Linked DNA regions of Homo sapiens: regions 1 and 2 are each linked to region 3. Evidence: promoter capture Hi-C in human tissues and cell types (Jung and others, 2019). All regions are on one chromosome and are shown on one strand. Each heading gives the region's core, a stretch centred on a gene start or on the middle of the fragment in contact. The rest is flanking DNA. Distances are from core to core; before and after follow the strand shown.

Region 1 (3,234 bases), core at 192-2,691, 140 kb before region 3:
CTACTAAAAATACAAAAATTAGCCGGGCATGGTGGTGCATGTCTGTAATCCCATCTACTCTGGAGGCTGAGACAGGAGAATCACTTGAACCCGGGAGGCAGAGGTTGCAGTGAGCCTAGATCTTGCCACTGTACTGCAGCCTGGGCGACAAAGTAAGACTCTGTCTCAAAAAATAAAAATAAATAAATAAATAATAAAATAAAATACAGGGCTGGGCCGAGCATAGTGGCTTACACCTATAATCCCAGCACTTTGGGAGGCTGAGGTGGGAGGACTGCTTTAGCCCAGGAGGTTGAGGCTGCAGTGAGCTGTGATCATGCCGCTGTACTCCAGCCTGGACAGCATAGTGAGACCCCATCTCAAAAAAGGAATACAGGGCCGGCTTCATGGGTGTGCCACCTGTGCAGTCGTCCAGGGCCCCACGTTTGGAAGGACCCCACACTTAGTTAAATGCTCTGATGCTATCATCTTAAAATTCTTAGTCGTTTTTGAACAAGGGCTAAATTTTTCATTTTGCACTGAGCCTGCAAATTATGCAGCTGTTCCTGGTGAAATGCCTCCCTCCTGGGTCTCTGTGAGAATTGAGTACGAGGCGATTCCTGGGAAGCACCCAGCACGGTGCTTTGCATAAAGTCAGTGGCTCAAGAAGTGGAGAAGCGCCCCAAAGTGAACCCCAGTACCCCGCAGGTTCCCTGCACTGCCTGTCCCTTCCCTCGGAGGAGGCACCACAGGGACTCCGGTCCCCGGACACCATCTGTTGATTGGCCCAGCCTGTGGGAGAGGGCTTGGCCTCCTCTGGAACCTTCCTGCTGCCCTGTGTGACTTGCTCGCCTCTCCGCAGCTGATCGCCTGGGAGCCGGAACAGGAAGAGGAGGTTACCATGGTGACCGCCCGGCCTAACTTTCAAGACAGCATCCACGTGGGCTTCGTGTCTGGCCTGAAGAAGTTCACCGAGTACTTCACCTCAGTGCTGTGTTTCACCACCCCCGGGGACGGGCCACGCAGCACCCCGCAGCTGGTGCGCACCCATGAGGATGGTAGGCACCCCCCAGCCCTGCTCTTTCTGCCCCCCCCCGCCCAAGGCCAGGCTGGGCGCCCCAGGCAGAAGGGTGGCCCAGGCTTGTCTCCCAGGCTGAGATACCCCCAGATTACCACAGGCTATCTCACAGATGGTGGTCTCTCTCTGGCTCTAACTGGCCTTGGGGGGTGGGGGTTCCTTTTGGGGTGCAGTGCCTGGGCCCGTGGGACACCTGAGCTTCAGTGAGATCCTGGACACATCGCTGAAGGTCAGCTGGCAAGAGCCGGGAGAGAAAAATGGCATCCTCACAGGTAGGCACTGCAGTGTTTCTGAACCAGAGGGCAGGACAGGGCTGGGAAAGGTCAGAGCTGGTCCATCCCCTGCCTTTGAGCTACTTTTCACCCAAACTCTTGAAGCCAACCCATGCTTTCTTAGAAACCACTCACAGGAGGCTCTTGGCACCTCCACTTCATAACACATCCCAGAGTCTGCAGCCCCACACCTTCTGCCACAGATCTCAGTGGCTGCCATGATGACTCACTATGTCCCCTGCAATTCCCTAAAGTGCTGGCATCCCACTGAGGCGACACCTGAGACCCAGGGCATGATGCCAACAGCTCCCACCTCCCTTGGCCCCATTGCTCCCAGCGTGGATCTAATTGCCAGCCTAGTGGAGAAGTGAGAAGTGGAGTAGTGGGTCAGGCCAACTTGTGATCACAGCCAAGCTCATGCCAACACGGCGGCTCTCCCCAGGGTACCGGATCTCCTGGGAGGAGTACAATCGAACCAACACCCGTGTGACCCACTACCTGCCCAACGTGACCCTGGAGTACCGTGTCACGGGCCTCACCGCGCTCACCACCTACACCATCGAGGTGGCCGCCATGACCTCAAAGGGCCAGGGCCAAGTGTCCGCCTCCACCATCTCCTCTGGGGTGCCCCCAGGTAAGTGCCCACTCTCAAGGCAGGACTCTTTGAGTTCTCCTGAGCAGCGTCCCATTCAAGAGGCCCCTTGTCGGCTGGGCGTGGTGGCTCATGCCTGTAGTCCCAGCACCTTGGGAGGCTGAGGCAGGCGTATCACTTGAGGTCAGGAGTTCGAGACCAGCCTGGCCAACGTGGTAAAACCCTACTAAAAATACAAAAATTAGCCAGCTGTGGTGGTGCATGCTTGTGATCCCAGTTAGTTGGGAGGCTGAGGATGGAAGATCGCTTGAACCCAGGAGGTAGAGGTTGCAGCGAGCCGAGATCACACCACTGCACTCCAGTCTGGGTGACAGGGCCACATCGCGTCTCAAAAAAAAAAATAAAAAGAGGCCCCTTGTCTTTCAGGAATACCAGCGTTCTTCCCACAGGCTCTCCCCTTCCCTTGTGCTGTGTGGGTCTGGGTCCCCTCAGAGCAGGCGGAATCCCTGGGATCCCAGGTCTCTGGACAGGGGCTCCCCTGGCTCCCTGCTGCATCCTCCCACAGCTCTCAGAAAAGCAGAGGCCCCCTGCCTTGTCTCATTTCCCCACCAGTCCCTCCCTTCACCCATTTCTCACCAGATTCCACACCAGGCAATGGTATCTGTGATTCAGGGGAAAATTTCCCACTGTCGCCCAGAGGGTCCACCTTGGATTCCAGCGTGTGGAAGGGTTGGTTGGGAGGTGGCAGAGCACGGTGGGGCTACTCCTAGGCCTGGCACAGAGAGCAAGCCGAGGTCCACTCTCAGCTCTGCTTCTGCCAAGCCCTACAACCTTGAGCAAGTTCTGTGTCCCCTCTGTGCCTCAGTTTCCCCATCTGTATATATGGGAAGTTGGACCAGATAACCATGTGGTCCCATCCAGATCAGTCAGGCAGTGCTTGTTTGACCTGCCAGCATCCCTCCACCTGCTGCGTAGATGGCTGGGCTGCCTGAGTCTCAGCCAAAGCCCAGTGATAATTACAGCCATGCTGGCAAATAGGTATGTAGTGTTCACGGGGCATGGTGCTGGGAGCTTTGCTCACGTTGACTCATTTAATCCTCACAACAACCCTGAGGGAGGTGTTGCTATTATCCTCTTCATTACCAAGGAGGACATGGAGGCACAGAGAGTTGGATAACTTGTGCAAAGACACACAGCCTGTAAGTAGTGGAGTTAGATTTAAACTCATTCTGACTCCAGAATCTGTGTTCTTTCTGTTGTTCCTGAGCTCCAAGAGCCCCAGGATTCCTGGCCAGAAAATAAGCTTCCCCCTG
Region 2 (3,336 bases), core at 802-3,301, 190 kb before region 3:
TGAACTCTTGACCTCAGGCGTTCCACCTGCCTCAGCCTCCCAAACTGCTGGGATGACAGGCATGAGCCACCGTGCCCAGCCCCATTTAAAGTCCTACCATGATGAGAGGCAGGAGTTTTGCCATCATCAGCACACAACCTTCCAAGTTGTCCTGCTCTGCCAGAGAGAAAGGGGGCAGACATGAGGATCGCGCAGGAGGCGCTCATGGTCCAAGCTTAGCAACGGTGCACATCCCTTCCTCCATATCCCACTAGTTCAGCCTCACTGCCCCACCTGGATGCAAGCAGAGATGCAAAGTCTGTCTCTGGCTTCCCAGCCACTGCAGTCCATGACACAAGGGAAGCCTGAGACTGAGGTGGGCAGCGGCCATCTCTGCCATCTTAATATACACTCTACCTAGGACAGACCATGTCAGGCATGGCGCTCTTGACATCTGGGGCCTGATCACTCTTCCCTGTGAGGGCCTTCCTGTGCACCACGGGATGCGTGCTTAACAACACCCCCGGCCTTGACCCCTATTGTTAGTGGCGCTCCCCGAGCTGGCAACCAAAAGTTGTCCAGACATTGTCATCCCTGGAGGGCAAAGTCAACCCTGGTTGAGAACCACTGACCCAGAAAGCTTGATCATGATATAGACAAAATACAGTGAAAGGAGCCTTCCTGATCAAGAAAGAGATGAAATTGGAGGTGGGAGCCTTCTTGGAGACCAAAAGGGTCCTAAGACAGGTGGGTGAACTGGAACGTGGGCCAAGCTGTGCCCAGTGTGCCCACTGGAGGCTTGAAGCTGCTTCTATGATAGTCATGGATGTGGCGTGGCTGGGGGAGCTGGGCCGGCATGGTCCCGGCACATAGTGCTCATGAAAATCCTGTCAGCCCTGAAGCTGGCCATGTCCCGGTCTGCGGGGTGGGAAGAGACAGGTGGCGGGCTGCAGGGCTATCTTGGGCCTAATGAGGAAACAACAGAAGCAGCAACAGGAATCAGAATCCTTCAACCTCTGGGCTGGAAGAAATCTCACAGAATACCTGCTTCCACCCCTGCACAGAGGAGGAAACTGAGGCCCAGCAAGGAGGAAGCTGCATGCCCTTTAGAGGCTAGGGCCAGAGCTCCATTCCAGAGCTCACCCCGTGCCCCAGCCAGAGCCCTGCACGGGGAGGACCCCTCCTCCAACTCTCAGCCACCCTCACATGCTATACCTAAGGACAAGTCCCTGCAGGAAACTCTCAGGTGGGAAAATGACCACTATCCCTGTCTTATTTTAAGCTTTTGAAATATTTTCGCCTGGCTCTGGCCCCACCTCCTATTGCCTCATTAGCTGGAGGTTAAAAGGACTCTCCTGTTTTTTGTTTCTTGTTTTTTTGTTTGTTTGTTTGTTTTGTTTTTTTGAGATGGAGTTTCGCTCTGTTGCTCAGGCTGGAGTGCAACGGTGCGACCTCGGCTGGCCGCAACCTCTGCCTCCCAGGTTCAAGCGATTTTCCTGCCTCAGCCTCCCGAGTAGCTGGGATTACAGGCATGCACCACCACCACACCCGGCTAATTTTGTATTTTTAGTAGAGACAGGGTTTCTCCATATTGGTCAGTATGGTCTCGAACCCCCGACCTCAGGTGATCCACCTACTTCAGCCTCCCAAAATGCTGGGATTACAGGCGTGAGCCACTGTGCCCAGCCAAGAGCTCTCCAGAAAAAAAAAAAAAAAAAAAAAAAGAGGTGGGGGGGCATCATTAGGGTACCCAGGAATTGGGGGCAGGAGGGCTTGGCTTCCTGCTTCCCAGAGCTGTGCCAAGAGTGTGATTCTCAGCATGTGAAGCACCAAAACCAGGAGAGAGTGGGGCGAAAACCAGCACAGCCGGGCTGGGAGAGTGCTGGGCTGGAGAAGCATTAGTGGGGATGTTTATTTGAGAGCCTGTTTAAAACTCTGTAACATTCACCTAATGGGAAAATTTGAAAAGAATTCAACTGGATTTGTCCTTGTTAAACTAACATTAAGGATGTTTAACAGCTGTCTCAGGCCCATCGCATTAAAATCCAGAGATATACTTGACAAACTAATGGCTTTGTTTGTCATTGGGAGAATGGGTGGAGGGAGGAAGAGCCGGTGTGGGTGGCGCTTCTGGCTCCATTGCACCCACATTCCATGGAGCCTCCAGCTTCCTGCTTGGACAAGCCCCTTTTCCCTGCCAGAAGACCTGGCCTGAGAAGGGGCTGCATGATGGGATCCCAGCAAAGGAAACCAGCTGAGGTAAACAGCCCATCACCACACCCCAAAACACACCAGCCTCTTTTTCCCTCCTAACCAGCCCACCTAGTCCCACTCTTGGTTATGAGCTTCAAAGAGGTAGAAACTCCAGCTGGGTACAGTGGCTCACACCTGTAATCCCAGTACTTTGAGAGGCCAAGGCAGGCAGATCACTTGAGGTCAGGAGTTTGAGACCAGCCTGGCCAACATAGCAAAACCCTGTCTTTACTAAAAATATAAGAATTAGCCGGGTGTGGTGGCATGCACCTGTAATCCCAGCTACTCAGGAGGCTGAGGCAGGAAAATCACTTGAACCGGGAAGGCGGAGGTTGCAGTAAGCCAAGATCGTACCATTGCACTTCAGCCTGGGTAACAAGAGCAAAACTCTGTCTCAAAAAAAAAAAAAAGACTGGGCACAGTGGCTCACGCCTGTAATCCCAACACTTTCGGAGGCCAAGGCGGGCAGATCACAAGGTCAGGAGATCGAGACCATCCTGGCTAACAAAGTGAAACCCTGTCCCTACTAAAAATACAAAAAATTAGCCAGGGGTAGTGGCGCGCACCTGTAGTCCTAGCTACTCGGGAGGCTGAGGCAGGAGAATCGCTTGAACCCGGGAGGCAGAGGCTGCAGTGAGCCAAGATCATGCCACTGTACTCCAGCCTGGGCAACAGATCGAGACTGTCTCAAAAAAAAAAGAGGTAGAAACTGATACCCAGAAAGGGGACTGAAGGGAGACAGGACTTCCAGAAGTTGATGTCACCAGGTGACCTGTGGCCTTTGAGTCCATCAATCCTGAACAGATTTAGGATTAGGGTTAAGGCATGGACTCTGGAATGGCCCTGCATTTCTAAATTCATTAGCATTCATTTGTCATTTACTTATTCATTCACCGACATTCACTAATCCATGCTGAGAACATTTCTTCAGTGTCTGGATGTACATCATGCAGAAATAACCACACACAGCCATGGAGGCTGTGACCTGGGAAAGGGCAGAATTCCAAGGGGATACCTGGAAGCCCCTTGCCCAGTCTTGGGGTAGGGGCCAGGGAAGCTTCCTTTGGGTGGCCTCGGCGTCTGGGCATGAACGTGCTGTCTCTG
Region 3 (3,353 bases), core at 804-3,303:
AATCTCAGCTACTCAGGAGGCTGAGGCAGGAGAATTGCTTGAACCTGGGAGGCAGAGGTTGCAGTGAGCCGAGATCGCGCCACTGCACTCCAGCCTGGTCAATAGAGCAAGACTCAGTCTCAAAAAAAAAAAAAAAAAAAAAATTCATCCTCTAAGCAGCCCCTGTCCAGTCTTCCCCCGACCATCCCTCAGAGAGCCATGTACAGTTCTCAGAGCCCTGTGGTGGCTCTGCTGCCTTCACGATCACTTCCCCCCAAAGCTGGCCCCAGCAGGCCCCCCAGAGTTGGGTCCCTTCTCAGCTCTTAAGCCTCATTGCCCCCATTCCACCTCTTTACCCCCGCTTCTGCCAAACCAAACCCTTGAGCGCCTCCTCAGCCTTCACATTGCTCCATGCCCCAACCTTCATACTGCTGGCCTTCTTCCAGAACATTCTCTCCCCATCATCATGACTCTCCATTGAGAGAGCTCTGCCTGCTACCCCTTCCTGCCCTGCTGGGCCCCTCATGCCTCCATCGCATTATTGTGTGAATGGCTAATGTCCCCTCCTTGATGGGGCCATCTCTGAGGATAGGGACGTGGCCCTAGTGCAGAGATGCTCAGGGATGTTTAGGGAAGGAAGTCATCAAGAGACCTAGATGTGAACCCCATCCATAGCGCCTCCCAAACCATGTGGTCTTGGCCTCCCTGGGCTTTGATTCCCTCATCAGTCCTGCCTGCGCTGCCAGGCTTCTGTGAGCCTTTAATGAGCCTGTGTTGACAGATGAATGCATTCTTGGGACTACTAATCAACGCATACAACTAAGGCCAAGAGAAGCCAGGGTTTCTACCCCAGGGACCCCCTTGGCCCCACCCTCTAGCCCTGGAGCTGGGTCCCTCTGCCTCTCCCAGGATGCAGTCAGAGGCCTGAGCTTCTGGAAACTCTTGGATCTCGTCCCTGCTCCTCCCAGTCCCACCTCGGCTCCAGGTGTCTATCTCTCCAGCTATTTTCTTTTCTGATCTGGAGTTCAAAAGAACAGATCTAGGAGCAACAGCCACGGGGAACAACAGCCAGCAGGCTAGTTCATGTTGGCCCAGCTGAGAGCCTGCGGGGCTGCCCACCTCTCCCTGCTGGGTTTGGGCACCCAGAAAGGAGGGCGTATGGGTTCTGGTTCTATGGGCATTAAAAGCCAATGTGACTGAGAACAGCAGCTCTAGTTAGAGGCAAGGCCAGTTTGGGGCCAGAGCAGGGGGAGGGGGAACCTGGTCTAATTAGAGCCCTAACATGCTCCTTTGAAAGCATTGTCAGATGTCCCCAGCCCTGCAGGCAGGGGTGGTGTAATAATAATAAAACAACATTTGCATAGAGATTTCATTTATAAAGCACTTTCTCAGGGGTGGGGTGGCACTGGGTGGCCCTGTGGAATCCTGGCTGGGAGGCCGCCCTGGCCTTGGTCGGTTCCGCCCTCCCGCCAAGCTGGCGATTGTGTGCGAGGTAAACAAAGCGCCATTCATCCAACTGTTTCAGTTCCTCTCCTCTTCATTCCTTTTTCCCTGTCTCCCACGAAGAGCTCACTCGGGGCTTGTCACTCAGGCCAGAAAAGGGGTGTCAGGGGCCCCAGAGGGAGACCCCTTCCCTCATGGGAAGAAGCGGGGAGGTGGGACGGCTCCCTCCCTCTGCAAACCCCCACCACCCCCAGCTCTGGCAGAATAACAGCCTTGCTGCGGTTGGTTTGTGCAACTCTTTGCTAACCTGTGGCTGTGTCTTCATGGACAAAGTATGAGCCCAGGTTTGGTAATGTCTGTGTGCACGCCACGTTTGTGTTCGGTAACATGCAAAGATAAGCAGTTTGTGGGGCTCTGCGAATCCCTCCCTATCCGAGTGAGCCTTGTGTACACAGTGTGGGGGTGAGGGGCCCTGGGGTGTCTGCCCCTGCACTGGGTGGGCCGGGTGAGGCAGCTGGGCCCTGCTCCTGTACAGCCCAGGCTGGAGCGTCCCCTGCAGTCACCTGGCCACTGGCACCCTGGGGTGAAGGGGGAGGCATTGGGCGCTGGCCCCTTAAGGGCCTCTGATGAGCTATATTGGGCCCACCTGCCTGGGTTCCAGCAGCTTCCGCAGCCCCAGCAGGAGACGGAAGATGCAAGAGGTCATTGCGGGGCTAGAGCGGTTCACCTTTGCCTTCGAGAAGGATGTCGAGATGCAGAAGGGCACTGGGCTCCTGCCTTTCCAGGGCATGGACAGTGAGTGAGGGTGGGGCCACTTTCCCTCCCCTACCTTCTCTGTTTTTTTTTCTTTGAGACGGAGTCTCGCTCTGTAGCCCAGGCTGGAGTGTAGTGGCACAATCTCGGCTCATTGCAAGCTCTGCCTCCTGGGTTCACGCCATTCTCCTGCCTCAGCCTCCCGAGGAGCTGGGACTACAGGCGCCCGCCACCACGCCCAGCTGATTTTTTGTATTTTTAGTAGAGACCGGGTTTCACCATGTTAGCCAGGATGGTCTCAATCTCCTGACCTCGTGATCCGCCCGCCTTGGCCTCCCAAAGTGCTGGGATTACAGGCATGAGCCACCACGCCCAGCCTCCCTCCCCCTTCCTTCTCTACAGGCCTCTCTGCTCAACTCCCTGATGCGACCGCCCCTTCTCTGTCTCTCTCTTCTGTGGCTTCGGGGCAACCCATTTTCCAGACTGAGAAAGAGAGGCACAGAGAGACGGTGAATTGAGAGAAGCCACACTGGCCTCCCGAGCTCCTGGGCCAGGCTTGAGCCCCTCGAGCTCCTCTGTTTCAGAGTTGGGGGGTTAAGGGTTGAGGTCTGCTGGCTGGCTCTGCAGGTTAACCTCTACAGGGCCCAGATTTGGGATCCCATAGGCCAGAGCCTGGGGGAGGTCTAGGTGGGACATGCCGATGGAGGTGGAGGCTTCCGGAACAGCTGCAGCCTCTGGGGAAGCTACCTTCTCCGTTCCCTCTTCTCCTTCCAGAGTCGGCCTCAGCTGTGTGCAACTTCTTCACTAAAGGGCTCTGTGAGAAAGGTGAGTTAGCAGACAGGCCTGGGCCCCAAGCTGGGTGAGTGTAGGGTCTGTCTGAGCTACACCCAGCAGGGGCTCTGCCTGGCCTGGGATAGGGTGTCGAATTTGCACCTGGGGAGGGAAAATTGGGATGGAACGGAATTTTATTTTTATTTTATTTATTTATTTTTAGATGGAATCTCGCTCTGTTGCCCAGGCTAGAGTGATCTGGCGTGATCTCAACTCACTGCAACCTCTGCCTCCTGGGTTCAAGCGATTCTCCTTCCTCAGCCTCCCGAGTAACTGGAACTACAGGTGCATGCCACCAAGCCCGGCTAATTTTTGCATTTTTAGTAGAGATGGAGTTTTGTCATGTT

What was found. Contacts are between HindIII fragments. The study calls those that stand out against the background at their distance.
Region 1: a contact is called between a fragment that was not itself captured here and the fragment with the promoter of CPSF4L in region 3, in 2 of the 25 tissues and cell types used here (lymphoblastoid cells and spleen).
Region 2: a contact is called between a fragment that was not itself captured here and the fragment with the promoter of CPSF4L in region 3, in 1 of the 25 tissues and cell types used here (spleen).

The regions. Positions count from the first base shown.
Region 1 is chr17:73,399,749-73,402,982 of GRCh38, reverse strand. It overlaps SDK2 (sidekick cell adhesion molecule 2), which reads left to right. Exons shown (of 45, transcript NM_001144952.2): 19 at 842-1,037; 20 at 1,231-1,329; 21 at 1,772-1,963. Among named protein-coding and RNA genes, the nearest start is that of CDC42EP4, 89 kb to the right of the region's middle. RefSeq lists enhancers at 1,289-1,792, 1,793-2,297. The HindIII fragment of the contact is 9,787 bases long and covers 1-3,234 here.
Region 2 is chr17:73,447,970-73,451,305 of GRCh38, reverse strand. All of the region lies in intron 4 of SDK2 (sidekick cell adhesion molecule 2), which reads left to right. Among named protein-coding and RNA genes, the nearest start is that of SDK2-AS1, 64 kb to the left of the region's middle. The HindIII fragment of the contact is 3,268 bases long and covers 418-3,336 here.
Region 3 is chr17:73,260,580-73,263,932 of GRCh38, reverse strand. It overlaps CPSF4L (cleavage and polyadenylation specific factor 4 like), which reads left to right and starts at 2,053. Exons shown (of 6, transcript NM_001129885.1): 1 at 2,053-2,217; 2 at 2,950-3,000. The coding sequence starts at 2,115. The HindIII fragment of the contact is 16,084 bases long and covers 1-3,353 here.